Linked DNA regions of Homo sapiens: region 1 is linked to region 2. The links are contacts of gene promoters, found by promoter capture Hi-C in blood cells and fetal thymus (Javierre and others, 2016). All regions are on one chromosome and are shown on one strand. The core of a region is centred on a gene start or on the middle of the fragment in contact, and the rest is flanking DNA. Distances in the headings are between cores, read along the strand shown.

Evidence for each region. Contacts are between HindIII fragments. The CHiCAGO score rates a contact against its expected background, and 5 or more counts as called.
Region 1: a fragment that was not itself captured here is called in contact with the fragment with the promoter of NUDT19 in region 2 in 2 of 17 cell types (erythroblasts and megakaryocytes); the score reaches 7.6 in erythroblasts.

What each region holds. Positions count from the first base shown.
Region 1 is chr19:33,109,186-33,115,651 of GRCh38, reverse strand. It overlaps GPATCH1 (G-patch domain containing 1), which reads right to left. Exons shown (of 20, transcript NM_018025.3): 11 at 5,636-5,935; 12 at 3,750-3,928; 13 at 3,039-3,166; 14 at 1,749-1,885; 15 at 1,233-1,399. Among named protein-coding and RNA genes, the nearest start is that of WDR88, 20 kb to the left of the region's middle. The HindIII fragment of the contact is 1,130 bases long and covers 1,952-3,081 here.
Region 2 is chr19:32,689,730-32,696,232 of GRCh38, reverse strand. NUDT19 (nudix hydrolase 19) reads right to left here and starts at 4,412. Exons shown (of 3, transcript NM_001105570.2): 1 at 3,559-4,412. The coding sequence starts at 4,272. It overlaps NUDT19-DT (NUDT19 divergent transcript), which reads left to right and starts at 3,937. Exons shown (of 2, transcript NR_186320.1): 1 at 3,937-4,870. It overlaps LOC124904690 (a long non-coding RNA gene), which reads left to right. Exons shown (of 2, transcript XR_007067226.1): 2 at 2,139-3,268. RefSeq lists a silencer at 4,040-4,449. The HindIII fragment of the contact is 6,189 bases long and covers 1-4,584 here.

The sequences.
Region 1 (6,466 bases), core at 1,267-3,766, 420 kb before region 2:
ATGGTGGTGCCTGCCTGTAATCCCAGCTACTCAGGAGGCTGAGGCAGGGGAATTGCTTGAACCCGGGAGGCAGAGGTTGCGGTGAGCCGAGACAGTGCCATTGTACTCCAGCCTGGGCAAGAAGAGTAAAACTTCATCTCAAAAAAAAAAAAAGAAACCCACTTTAAATATAATGAAACAGATGTGTTAAAAAGAAGATGAAAAAGATATATACTACGCAAACACTAAAGAAAATTACCAGGGATAAAGATGATATTACATAATGTTAAAAGGGTCAACTGGGCATGGTGGCTCACGCCTGTAATCCCAGCACTTTGGGAGGCCAGGGCAGGAGGACTGCTTGAGAGCAGAAGTTTGAGACCAACCTGGAAAAACATAGCAAGGCCCTTTCTCTGAAAAAAAAAAAAAAAAAAAAAAAAAAAAAAATTAGCCAGGCATGGTGGTGTGTGCCCGCAGTCCCAACTACTCAGGAGGCTGAGGCAGGATTGCTTGAACCTGGGCGTTCGAGCCTGCAGTGAGCCATTATCACAACACTGCACTCCAGCCTGGGCACAGAGTAAAAGCCGGTGTCAGAGAAAAAAAAAAAAAGATCAATTCACTGAAAAGAAATAGCAATCCCAGTTCAAGACCAGCCTGGCCAACATGGTGAAACCCCATCTCTACTAAACATACAAAAATTAGCCAGGCATGGTGGTGCGCACCTGTAGTCCCATCTACTTGGGAAGCTGAGGCAGGAGAATCACTTGAACCCGGGAGGGGAGGCAGAGCTTGCAGTGAGCCGAAATCATGCCACTGCACTCCAGCCTGGGGGACAGACCAAGACTCCATCTCAAAAAAAAAAAAAAAAAAAAAAAGAGAGAAATAGCAATCCTAAATGTATATACACCTAAGAAGTGCACTTCAAAATACATAAGGCAAAAATAACTTTGGAATACAGTTTGACAGCTTCTTATAAAGTTAAATATACATGTACATATTTTCCAGGATTCCCACTACTAGGTTTGTACTCTACAGAAATGAAAACTTATATTCACACAAAAACTTGCACATGAATGCTCCCAGCAGCTTTACTTGTTATAGCCAAAAGTTAGAAACAAGCCAAATGGCCTTTAAGGGGAAATGGATCAATAGTTGGCTGCCTCTGCTGGTGAGTCACGAGGAGAAAGTGTCACCAAAGAGAAAAGCAAGGGCCACACTCAGCGTGGCAAAGAGAATCTGGAAGCCCCAAATACCTGATTTGCGGATAATTCTGGTGCATGCTCTTCCTCTTTGTTTACTAAGGGGCTGGACTGTTGTTTAGGTGGCTCGGCTTTTGATCTAGCCAAACTTAAAAATTCACTAATGGAATCTTCTTTCTTTTCGTGTTTAGAGGTATCCCATCTGGATGGTTTTCTTGATTCTGAAAGGCAGGACATAGATATAAACTCCAGCATTAGCAAGGAAAAGGCCAGTTCTTCACCACTGCTCTTTCATTCACTCAGAATGTCAGCGTGCCTACTAGGGGCCTGGCACTGTGTAGGGTCCTGGGGAGGTAGGTGGCAGAGGCAGAGACAGAGCCCCAACCCCAAAGAGTAAACATCTGGACCATTACAACATGAGCTAAGTTATTAGTAAGAGTAATTCCCTCAATGGAGGGAGAATATGCACCATTCACATTGTTAGGACTAAACTACCCTTTAATTCTGTCTTCCTACAGGCTAGGGGTTGAGGCCCTGGTCAATCAGAGACCCCGGGGACGCCCTACTCACTGTCGGGACCTCGGTGCTGTGATACTTTTTCACTTGATGCTTGAGTGGTGGGCAAGGAAGCTGTCTCTGGGAGCGTCAGAAAGTTGAAGACTGAGTACTTGTCACGCTTCACTCTTGGTAAGCCAACTAAAGTTGAACTGGGAATTGAAAAAAGAATCATTTTAGTAACAACCAGTAGGACAAAATCCACCTCCTGAAAAGCTTTCCATCTCAAGTTTTCCACCTCTTCTGCATGACTAAAAAGTCTCCTAAGATGCTTTCACTTCTCAAAGCAGTTCGAGAATCTGGGTGACTGATTTTAGGTCCCATGAGATTTTCCTTATTATGATAAGGACAAGAATTTAACTTTCAAAATGGATTTCCATTAAGGAAAAGCTCCACTGATAAAAATATACCTAAAGTTTCTGACAGTCTCTGGTTTGACCACATATGCTATCTTTTTGTTTTGTTTTTTTTTCTCTTGAGATTGAGTCTCGCCTTGTCACCCAGGCTAGAGTGCAATGGCACAATCTTGGCTCACTGCAACCTCCGCCTCCCAGGTTCAAGCAATTCTCCTGCATCAGCCTCCCAAATAGCTGGGACTATAGGCACGCACCACCACGCCCAGCTAATTTTTTGTATTTTTAGTAGAGACGGGGTTTCACCATGTTGGTCAGGCTGGTCTTGAACTCCTGACCTCAAGTGATCTGCCTGCCTCAGTCTCCCAAAATACAGGGATTACAGGCGTGAGCCATTGCACCCGGCCTACTATCTTGAAGTGTTCTGTTTGTTTGTTTGTTTGTTTGATTTTTTAGAGATGGGGTCTTACTATGTTACCCGGGCTGGCCTCGAACTCCTGGGCTCAAGCGATCCTCCTGCCTTGGCCTCCCAAGCTAGGATTACAAGTGTGCACCACCACACCCCACCTCTTGAAGTGTTATTAATCAAATAAGAAAGTGTTTAACTTTTATAATGATAATTTAAAAACATAAGTAACATTATAAATGTAAACCACATGAGCAGCAACAAGAAGGTGGCAAATGAGAGAGGCATAATGCTTTTGTAACTTGACATATCTGAGTTTCATAGCTTCAATATGGAATAAAGTTTGCTATCCAGATTTTGTTTTAGTAACAAATTATAGAAGTAATTTATCAAAGCAAATCTATAAAATGTGTAGATTTGTATATCCAGTGATATGCAAATAAGTTCATGTAGAAAAAATAAGAATTTATATGAGTATGTAAGGGGAAAATTAGCTTTAATATCAAGAATACATTTTGTACTGATGTAAAGGTTTATCCAACTTACTCTGGATAAGGGTCAGGGACATTAAATCTCTTACATAGAAGCTTGTCAGGGTGCCACTCAAACGTGTCTCGGGTGAGCTTCCCAAACATCTTCATCTTCACAGCCGACTGCTTATCCCCGACATCATTCTGGAAAAAGACATGCATTCTGTTCCATCAAGTGGCCGCACCACTGACCTGACTGCTCTCCCATTTAAAATTTTCAAGCAATCTTCTAGAACTGTGAAAAAAGTTTGTGCTATAACATTTATGCTCCAGTACATTGGAAACTAAGGCATAAAATGGTTTCCTATTCTCCTATACATGTATATTTTGATCTTCTCACCAAGGGATTAAAAATATTTGGCTCGGCCGGGCATGGTGGCTCATGCCTGTAATCCTAGTACTTTGAGAGGCCGAGGCGGGTGGATCACCTGAGGTCAGGAGTTCAAGACCAGCCTGGCCAATATGGTGAAACCCCATCTCTACTAAAAATACAAAAATTAGATGGCTGTTGTGGCGAGCGCCTGTAATCCCAGCTACTTGGAAGGCTGAGGCAGGAGAATCGCTTGAACCCAGGAAGCGGAGGCTGCAGTGAGCCGAGATCACACCACTGCACTCTAGCCTGGGCGACAGAGAGAGACTCCGTCTCAAAAAAAAGGAAAAAACTATTTTGGCTAGGCAGTGCTTTAATATTAAAGTTCACCAGGTAAGGGACATGGTGACAACAGACCTCTTGGTCTCGAGGGACTTCAACCTGATCTGAGTCATCCTCCTCCTTGGCGTGAGTGAACCTGGAGGACAAGGTCGAATGGGAAGATGCGTACAGCAGGGCCGCCCGGGCAAACTCATCCCGCTCACGGCCTCGCTCCCACTCTGTCATGCTGGGGTCCAGACAGCGTTCCAGAGCATCTGCGGGGGCAGAGAACAAGAAGCAGCTTCACTTTTCAGGAAAACATGGGGCTTACAAGAGAACATCTGCTGGGCACCACTGTATCCCTGTATATTTCATAAGTCCTTATCCTTGTTTTTATGACTATGGGAATGGTGAGGTATTTGGCAGGTAATATTGCTGTTTCCTTCAAAATTGTGCTTTTTTAAAAAAAATTTAGGCCAGGCGCAGTTGTTCATGCCTGTAATCCCAGCACTTTGGGAGGCCGAGGCGGGTGGGTCACTTGAGGTCAGGAGTTCGGGACCAGCCTGGCAAACATGGTGAAACCCCATCTCTCTTTTTTTTTTTTTTTTTTTTTCTGAGATGGAGTCTCACTCTGTCTCCCAGGCTGGAGTGCAGTGGCATGATCTCTGCTTACTGCAAGCTCCGCCTCCCACGTTCACACCATTCTCCTGCCTCAGTCTCCCGAGTAGCTGGGACTACAGGCGTCCGCCACCATGCCCGGCTAATTTTTTGTATTTTTAGTAGAGACGGGAAACAAAAAATTACCAGGCGTGGTGGCACATACCTATAGTCCCAGCTGCTCAGAAGGCTGAGGCAGGATAATCACTTGAACCTGGGAGGTGGAGGTTGCAGTGAGCTGAGATTGCAGTGAGCCAAGATCCTGACACTGCACTCCAGCCTGGGCAACAGAGCAAGACTCCGTTCAAAAAAATAAATAAAATATGATGTGTGTATATATATATATAATATATTTTATATATACATATATATCTTTTTTTTTTTGGTAGAGGCAGGATCTCACTATGTTGCCCAGGCTGGTCTTGAACTCCTAGGCTAAAGCGATCCTCATCTCAGCCTCCCAAAGTACTTGGATTACAGGCATGAGCCACCATCCCCAGCCAAAATGATGCTTTTATTGAATTCTGTCTACCAAACATAACAGAGAAAACCATTTGAGAGGCTAATGGTTGGTTAAATCTTCAGCAGTAAGGAACTTGTCACCACTCCCAGGCAGTGATAAGTTCACCTCAACCACATCCCTATGTTTTGGCAGAAAAACACTCTTTCACTAACCGTTTTTTTTTTTTAAAGCAAATAAACATTAGTGATGTAGGTTCTTAGTAGAGAGTTAAGGCACAGTAAATAGACTTTACATTCCGCAAAGATCTGTTTTTAAAAAACAACCCTGTAATTTACTGATAACCTCTCACGAGGACTACTGCATACAACAGCAACCCCTTTCCTCATTCTTGCCTCATTCTTGCCCTATTTACTTCACAGATCACAAAGTGATTGTTTTCCCTCTGTAACGGTTCAATAGCTAACTATTGTTTTAAGTCATATTTTAGACTATGAGTCAGGAATGGATGGTTAGGATCTTCGGATGAGGTGGAAGATGATGCTGATATGAAATGTGAATGCAATGCTTGTAGCAGTCAAGCACTTGCAAACACCAAACGGCCTGTAAGTACCGGCCACCGCCAGCTGTGTTCTCTACTTAAACAGCTAGCTTTGGCCTGAGATATGGAGGAACATAAGCCAACTGTTCTTGCTTTCTGAGGTCAAGAGCCAAGGCCTGAAACCTTTGCACTATTTGCAGCAGGATAAAGCAAAAACACTGACAGAACAGGATACCTCAACTGTAAATATGGGTCTAGGATGAGAACAGTGAGAATATGACCCCGCCCGGGCCGAGATTTGGGACACCCAGGCCCAGCACCCACCTTTCTGACCCTGTTTCATGTGTACTAAGAACTCGTCGTATCGCTTTTGCTTTTCCGGATCTTTGGCGAAAGGCTTGAAGTTGCTGGCTTTTAAGGTGGCCGTCCCACCACCTAATGCCATGTTCCAAGAGCAGTGCCCAGCAGCCGCTGCAGGGGAGAGCTGGGCTCTGCTGCTCTGAGCGTTCTGGGCCAGACTCCTGGCCTTGAGCTGAGCTGCTTTCAGGTCAGTTGCCTGCTTCATTTCTTTGATTCTCTCTTTGTCTTTTTGGGACAGAAATTCTAACACTGAAGTAGCTGAACCTAAATAAAAACAGTAATTAGAAGAGATGAAAAGAGCCATGAGACAACCACATTTACGTTTCTCTGTACATACATTTCAATAACACAAATTTACATAATTGGGGATGAGGATTTTATGTTTAGTGTTTCATTTATATTAATATGTCCCTGTGGACTAGACAGTGATAAAAATTGAGATTCTTCTTCTTATTATTATTATTATTTTAGATGGAGTCTCGCTCTATTGCCCAGCCTGGAGTGCAATGGTACCATCTCAGCTCACTGCAACCTCCTGGGTTCAAGCAATTCTCCTGTCTCATCCCCACCGAGTAGCCGGGACTACAGGCATGTGCCACAATGCCTGGCTAATTTTTTATATTTTTAGTAGAGACAGGGTCTCATCATGTCGGCCAGGTTGGTCTCAAACTCCTGACCTCAGGTGATCCACCCGCCTCGGCCTCCCAAAGTGCTGGGATTACAGGCGTGAGCCACCACGCCTGGCCAATTCCTATGTTTTTTTTGAGACATGGTCTCGCTGTGTCACCTGGACTG
Region 2 (6,503 bases), core at 3,163-5,662:
TTATGGCTATCAGAAAACCACCTGCTTAGATACCAGGCACTACTCCTTGAGTGACCAGTGCTTCAAGTGCATACATGTGTGGCCCTCAGCCCTGCCACTTTTCTCCCAGAGGATAGGGAGCGGGTCAAGCATGGCTGCCAACAGGTAGTAGTCCAGACTTATGCCGCCTGAAAGGATCTCTTAGAAGTCCCGTTAGCTAATCCTGACCTTAACCTATATACCGATGGAAGTTCATTTGTGGAAAATGGGATACGAAGGGCAGGTTATGCCACAGTTAGTGATGTAACCGTACTTGAAAGTAAACCTCTTCCCCCAGGGACCAGCACCCAGTTAGCAGAACTAGTGGCACTTACCCGAGCCTTAGAACTGGGAAAGGAAAAAAGAAAAAACGTGTATACAGATAGCAAGTATGCTTATCTAATCCTACATGCCCATGCTGCAATATGTAAAGAAAGAGCGTTCCTAACCTCTGGGGGAACCCCCATTAAATACCACAAGGAAATCATGGAGTTATTGCACTCAATGCAAAAACCCAAGGAGGTGGCAGTCTTACACTGCCGAAGCCATCAAAAAGGGGAAGGAGAAGGGAGAACGGCAGCATAAGCGGCTGGCAGAGGCAGGGAAAGACCAGCAGAGAGAAAGAGGCAAAGTCAAAGACAGAAGGAAAGAGAGGAAGAGACAAAGGAGTCAGAGAGAAAGAGATAGAAGTAGTAAAGAAAAAACAGTGCACCCTATTCCTTTAAAAGCCAGGGTAAATTTAAAATATATAATTCATGCCTGTAATCCCAGCACTTTGGGAGGCCAAGGCGGGCAGATCATGAGGTCAGGAGTTTGAGACCAACTTGGCCAACATGGTGAAACCCCGTCTCTACTAAAAATACAAAAATTAGCCAGGTGTGGTGGCGGGCGCCTGTAATTCCAGCTACTCCAGAGGCTGAGGCAGGAGAATTGCTTGAACCCGGGAAGCAGAGGTTGCGGTGAGCCTAGATCATGCCACTGCACTCCAGCCTGGGTGACAGGGCAAGACTCCATCTCCAAAAAAATAAAAATGAAAAATAAAACCTACAATTGATAATTGAAGGTCTTCTCTGTAACCCTGTAACACTCCAATACCACCTTGTTGTCAGTGTAAACAAGGGCATAGCCCAAAAGCACTGAGGCCACTGACAACCTGTAGCCTTCCTATCAAAAATCCTTAACCCAGCAGGTTCCTAACAGGGGATCTAAATCTGAAGGTCTGACCAGACATAGGAGGAACCCCCTTCAGGACAGGATGATAGATGTTTCCTCCTGGGCGATTAAGGAAAAAGACACAATGGGTACTCAGTACGTGATAAGGAAACTCTTACAGAAGCAGAGTTAGGAAAATTGCCTAATAATTGGTCTGCTCAAATGTGCAAGCTGTTTGCACTCAGCCAAACCTTAAAGTACTTACAGAATCAGGAAGGAGCCATCTATACCAATTTTAAGTGAATATGGACTGAACGAGGTCTTATTAATAGCAAAGAATAATTGAAATCCCAAACTTAAGGTTTTCAACAAAAGTAAAGTTTGCTAAAAGTTAACAGTGTAACACATATTATCCTAACTTCTAATCTTATGGACATCAGACCCTATCAGTGCCCCTCAAAGCTCAAGTCCATCAGCACAGGGCCATACAACTGATACCCCTACTTATAGGGCTAGAAATGGCCACTGCTACAGGAACCGGAATAGCCAGTTTATCTACTTCATTATCTTACTACCACACACTCTCAAAGTATTTCTCAGACAGTTTGCAAGAAATAACAAAATCTATTCAGTAAGGATAGTAACTACAATCCCAAATAGACTCTGGCAGCAGTGACTCTCCAAAACCCCCGAGGCCTAGACCTCCTCACTGCTGAGAAAGGAGGACTTTGCACCTTAGGGGAAGAGTGTTGTTTTTACACTAACAAGTCAGGGATAGTGCAAGATGCCGCCCGGCATTTACAGGAAAAGGTTTCTGAAATCAGACAACGCCTTTCAAACTCTTATACCAACCTCTGGAGTTGGGCAACATGGCTTCTCCCCTTTCTACATCCTGTGACAGCCGTTTTACTATTACTCGCCTTCGGGCCCTGTATTTTTAACCTCCTTGTCAAATTTGTTTCCTCTAGAATCAAGGCCATCAAACTACAGATGGTCTTACAAACGGAAACCCAAATGAGCTCAACTAACAACTTCTACCGAGGACCCCTGGACCGACCCACTGGCCCTTTCACTGGCCTAGAGAGTTCCCCTCTGGAGGACACTACAACTGCAGGGCCCCTTCTTTGCCCCTGTCCAGCAGGAAGTAGCTAGAGCAGTCATTGCCCAATTCCCAACAGCAGATGGGGTGCCCTGTTTAGAGGCGGGATTGAGAGGTGAAGCCCCTGGACTTCCTGGGTCCAGTGGGGACTTGGAGAACTTTTCTGTCTAGCTAAAGATTTGTAAATGCACCAATCAGCACTCTGTAAAAACGCACCAATCAGTGCTCTGTGTCTAGCTAAAGGTTTGTAAATGCACCAATCAGTACTATGTAAAAACGCACCAATCAGTGCTCTGTCTAGCTAAAGATTTGTAAACGCACCAATCCGCACTCTGTAAAAATGGACCAATCAGCACTCTGCAAAATGGACCAATCAGCAGGACATGGGCAGGGCCAAATAAGGGAATAAAAGCTGGCCACCCAGCCACCAGCACCCAACCTGCTCTGATCCCCTTCCGCTGTGGGAGGTTTGTTCTTTTGCTCTTTGCAATAAATCTTGCTGCTGCTCACTCCTTGGGTCCGCACTACCTTTATAAGCTGTAACACTGACCACAAATGTCTGCAGCTTCGCTCCTGAAGCCAGCGAGACCACAAACCCACCAAGAGGAACAAACAACTCCTGACGCACCACCTTTAAGAGCTGTAACACTCACTGCGAAGGTCTGCGGCTTCAATCCTGAAGTCAGCGAGACCACGAACCTACCAGAAGGAAGAAACTCCAGACACATCTGAACATCTGAAGGAAGAAACTGGACACACCATCTTTAAGAACTGTAACACTCACTTCGAGGGTCCGCGGCTTTATTCTTAAAGTCAGCGAGACCAAGAACCCACTGGAAGGAACCAATTCTGGACACACCAGGAGCTGGAGACGAGCCTGGGTGTGCAACACAGAGAGACAAGACCCCCATCTGTACCAAAAATAAATAAAAATAGGAAGACTGGATCATATTAAGTCTGTTCTCCAAGAAAACCAAATTAAACGGCTGTGGAGATGTACTATGTCTACACATGTACAAGTGCTTACACAGTGGCCACGCTGGAGGAACCACGTGGAGAGACAGGCTCCAGGCCTTGAGACCCCAAAGCCTAGGAAAGCAGAGAGCACTTCACCAAGAGCATGGCTTTGGTCTACAGGGGTGAGAGTTTCCAGCCCGTCTAAGCGTTCCTTGCTGCTTAATCTCTCTGGGCTTGGCCTATGCGGGGGTCCCTTGGGGGCCTGGGCCGCTGGGAGGGGTCCTCCCTCTCACGTCCTGGCGGTCCGCAGCAAGGCCCTGAGCAGGCCTTACCTGGTAGCCCACCACCTCCGCCAAGTCGGGGTAGACGGGCGGCGGCTCGCGCAGGCAGCACAGGAAGAAGGCCGTGTCAAAGCGGCGAGTGGTGCCCCGCAAGAAAGGGGTGAGCCAGGCGCTCCAGTTGTGCAGCGCCCAGATGTCGGGTGTGCAGTCGAGGTGGGCGCACAGCCGCAGGAAGTGGCGCGGGTCCTGGCGCACGCGGTCGCGCCAGGAGGCCAGGCCCGGCGGTGGCTCCAGGGCGAGGCCAGGCCCGGGTGCTGGGCCTGGTGGGGAAGTCCTGGGCCGCAGCAGCAGCACGCCCGCCTCCTCAAAGGCCTCCCGCACGGCGCAGATGCGGAAGGCTACGTCCTCAGGCAGCGTCCCAGTGTTGTCGGTCTTGTGGTCATCGGTGTCGGGCAGCGACGGGAAAGCGGTGCGGCTGAATGGCGCCGGGCCCAGGCCGAAGCGCGGCGGCCCGTGGTGCGGCGCGAAGAGGCCCAGCCAGTCCGCCGAGCGGTCGGCCGCATCCAGCACTCCGCCGGAGAAGACGTGCGCGCCCGGCATGAAGCCTTGGTGCGGGGAGCGCTGCAGCAGCAGCAGCCGGAAGCCCTCGGCCGGCGGCGGGCGCGACGGCGGGGTGGCGGTCTCCGGGCGCGACCAGCCAGCCGCCAGGACGATGCTGGCCGCCCGCCGCCAGCGGCTGGGGCCCGGCCGCAGGGAGCTGCTCATGGCGCGCAGCTTCCCGGATCCGATTCTGGCGCGGCCTGAGCTCCACGGCAGGTGGCCCGGCCCTGCAGGGACCCCAGCACCTCCGGGGGCCTCGCGGGAATTGAGGACGAGCCTCTGGCGTTGGGTGAACCTGGGCGTTTGGTCGGCAACGGCGCCTGCCTGTGGGAGGGGCACCCGAGCAGGGACCGCCTCGAGTGCACTGGGGCCCAGCTAGGGCACTCTCGCGGGACAATGGGTGTCACGGCAGCCAGCGACCGTTTGTCATTCACAGCTGCCTGAAAGGAGGACCGCAGTATTCCCACGCAGGAAGCTTGGACCAAAAGCAGGAATGCTTAAGGGCGCATATGACTTGCCATGGTAAAAAACAGGATGCCAACCCAGGCCTGATGACATCCACCTCACTAAAAGCTAAGGACTAGGACTTTCTGCTTTAAACAAGGACCCACATGTGGGTGTTTTCTGTGGGAGAGGGAGAGAGGACATTCGAAGGGCAGAAGTCTGACCTTTGCAAGCACACGTGAACCACACCAATGAGAAATGAATGGACGAGCCAGATGCCAATTTATAAATTTCCTACTGCACACCTTGAATGTGAAAGGTACTCCCAGAGTAATTTCTCTCGTGTTCTGGTTACCTTTTATTGTCAGGGCGCCTGGGGACGGCCTTAGGTGTCTTAGGACATTTGACGAGTTCCACTTTGATGGGAGATGTTTAATCTGGGCCTCCACATGGAGATTTCTCTCCACCTTGTTAGTGTCTAGAAGACTTCCACCTCCAATAGCAGGATTATGATCTTTTGAAAAGCCTGTGTAAATTTGAGTCTTTTCTTTTATAACTCCTTATCAGTCACCGACAGCTTTTCCCATAATTGCTATTATAATTGGATCACACATTTGTTATGTTTTTGGATGAAATACACTATACCCCTGCCGACCCTCACAAACCATCATTTTAATGTGGGTTATTTCCTGGGTAGAATCCACAGATGACATTGTCAATATTTAGGGGTTTTGTTTGTTTTTTTGTTTGAAGAGACCTGGTCTCTGGCCAGGCGCTGTGGCTTACACCTGTAATCCCAGCACTTTGGGAGGCCGAGGTGGTCGGATCACCTGAGGCCAGGACTTCAAGACCAGCATGGCCAACATGGCAAAACCCCGCCTCTACTAAAAATACAAAAATTAGCTGGGTGTGGCGGCCCGCGCCTATAGTTGCAGCTACTCAGGAGGCTGAGGCAGGAGAATCACTTGAATCTGGGTGGAGGTTGCTGTGAGCCAAGATCCTGCCACTGCATTCCGGCATGGGTGACAGAGCGAGACTCTGTCTCAAAAAAATAAATAAATAAATAAAATAAAAATACAGAGCAATGGAGAGAAAGGCACTCAGGTGATTAAAGTAACATGTCTTCAATACTAGGAGTAATAATAATCCTAGGGGATAATAATATTAGTAGTTACTGGGTACAGTGTGTGAGGCACTAGGAACTTTATTAGTATTAGTTGTGTAATTCTTACAAAACCCCATGAAGTGGAAACAGTTACCACTATTTTACAGATGACTAACCATTTATGGAGGGATTAAGGGTCTTAAGAACATACTACTCCCTTTGCTGTAAAATAACACCGTGGTTTTGTAGGTGAATGTGTGTGTTTCAACATCAGCTGGTTTTCACAGAAGCTGGTTACTCATGAGTGAGATGACCAAGTCCTGGTCCTGGGTGCATAGCAAAACAACAGAAACTGAACCTTTTTTTTTTTTGAGAGGGAGTCTGGCGCTCTCACCAGGCTGGAGTGCAGTGGTGCGATCTCGGCTTACTGCAATATCTGCCTCTCGGGTTCAAGCAATTCTCCTGCCTCAGCCTCTGGAGTAGCTGGGATTGCAGGCGCATGCTACTACGCCTGACTAATTTTTGTATTTTTAGCAGAGACAAGGTTTCATCATGTTGGTGAGGCTGGTCTCTAACGCCTGACCTCAAGTGATCTGCCTACCTCAGCCTCCCAAAGTGCTGGGATTACAGGTGTGAGCCACCACACCTGGCAGAAACTGGACCTTAACCAACACAGAACAGTGTCCAAAATGTGCACACTGCCATGACTGTCATATTTGGGGCACTGAGATGACACAATTACAGTTTATGGATTCAGAGATCATGTCATATAAACTCAGTTATCTGAACTGTAGCCAAGAAATGATACAGAAGCAAAGAACTATCCATGAGCATTCAAAGAGATACA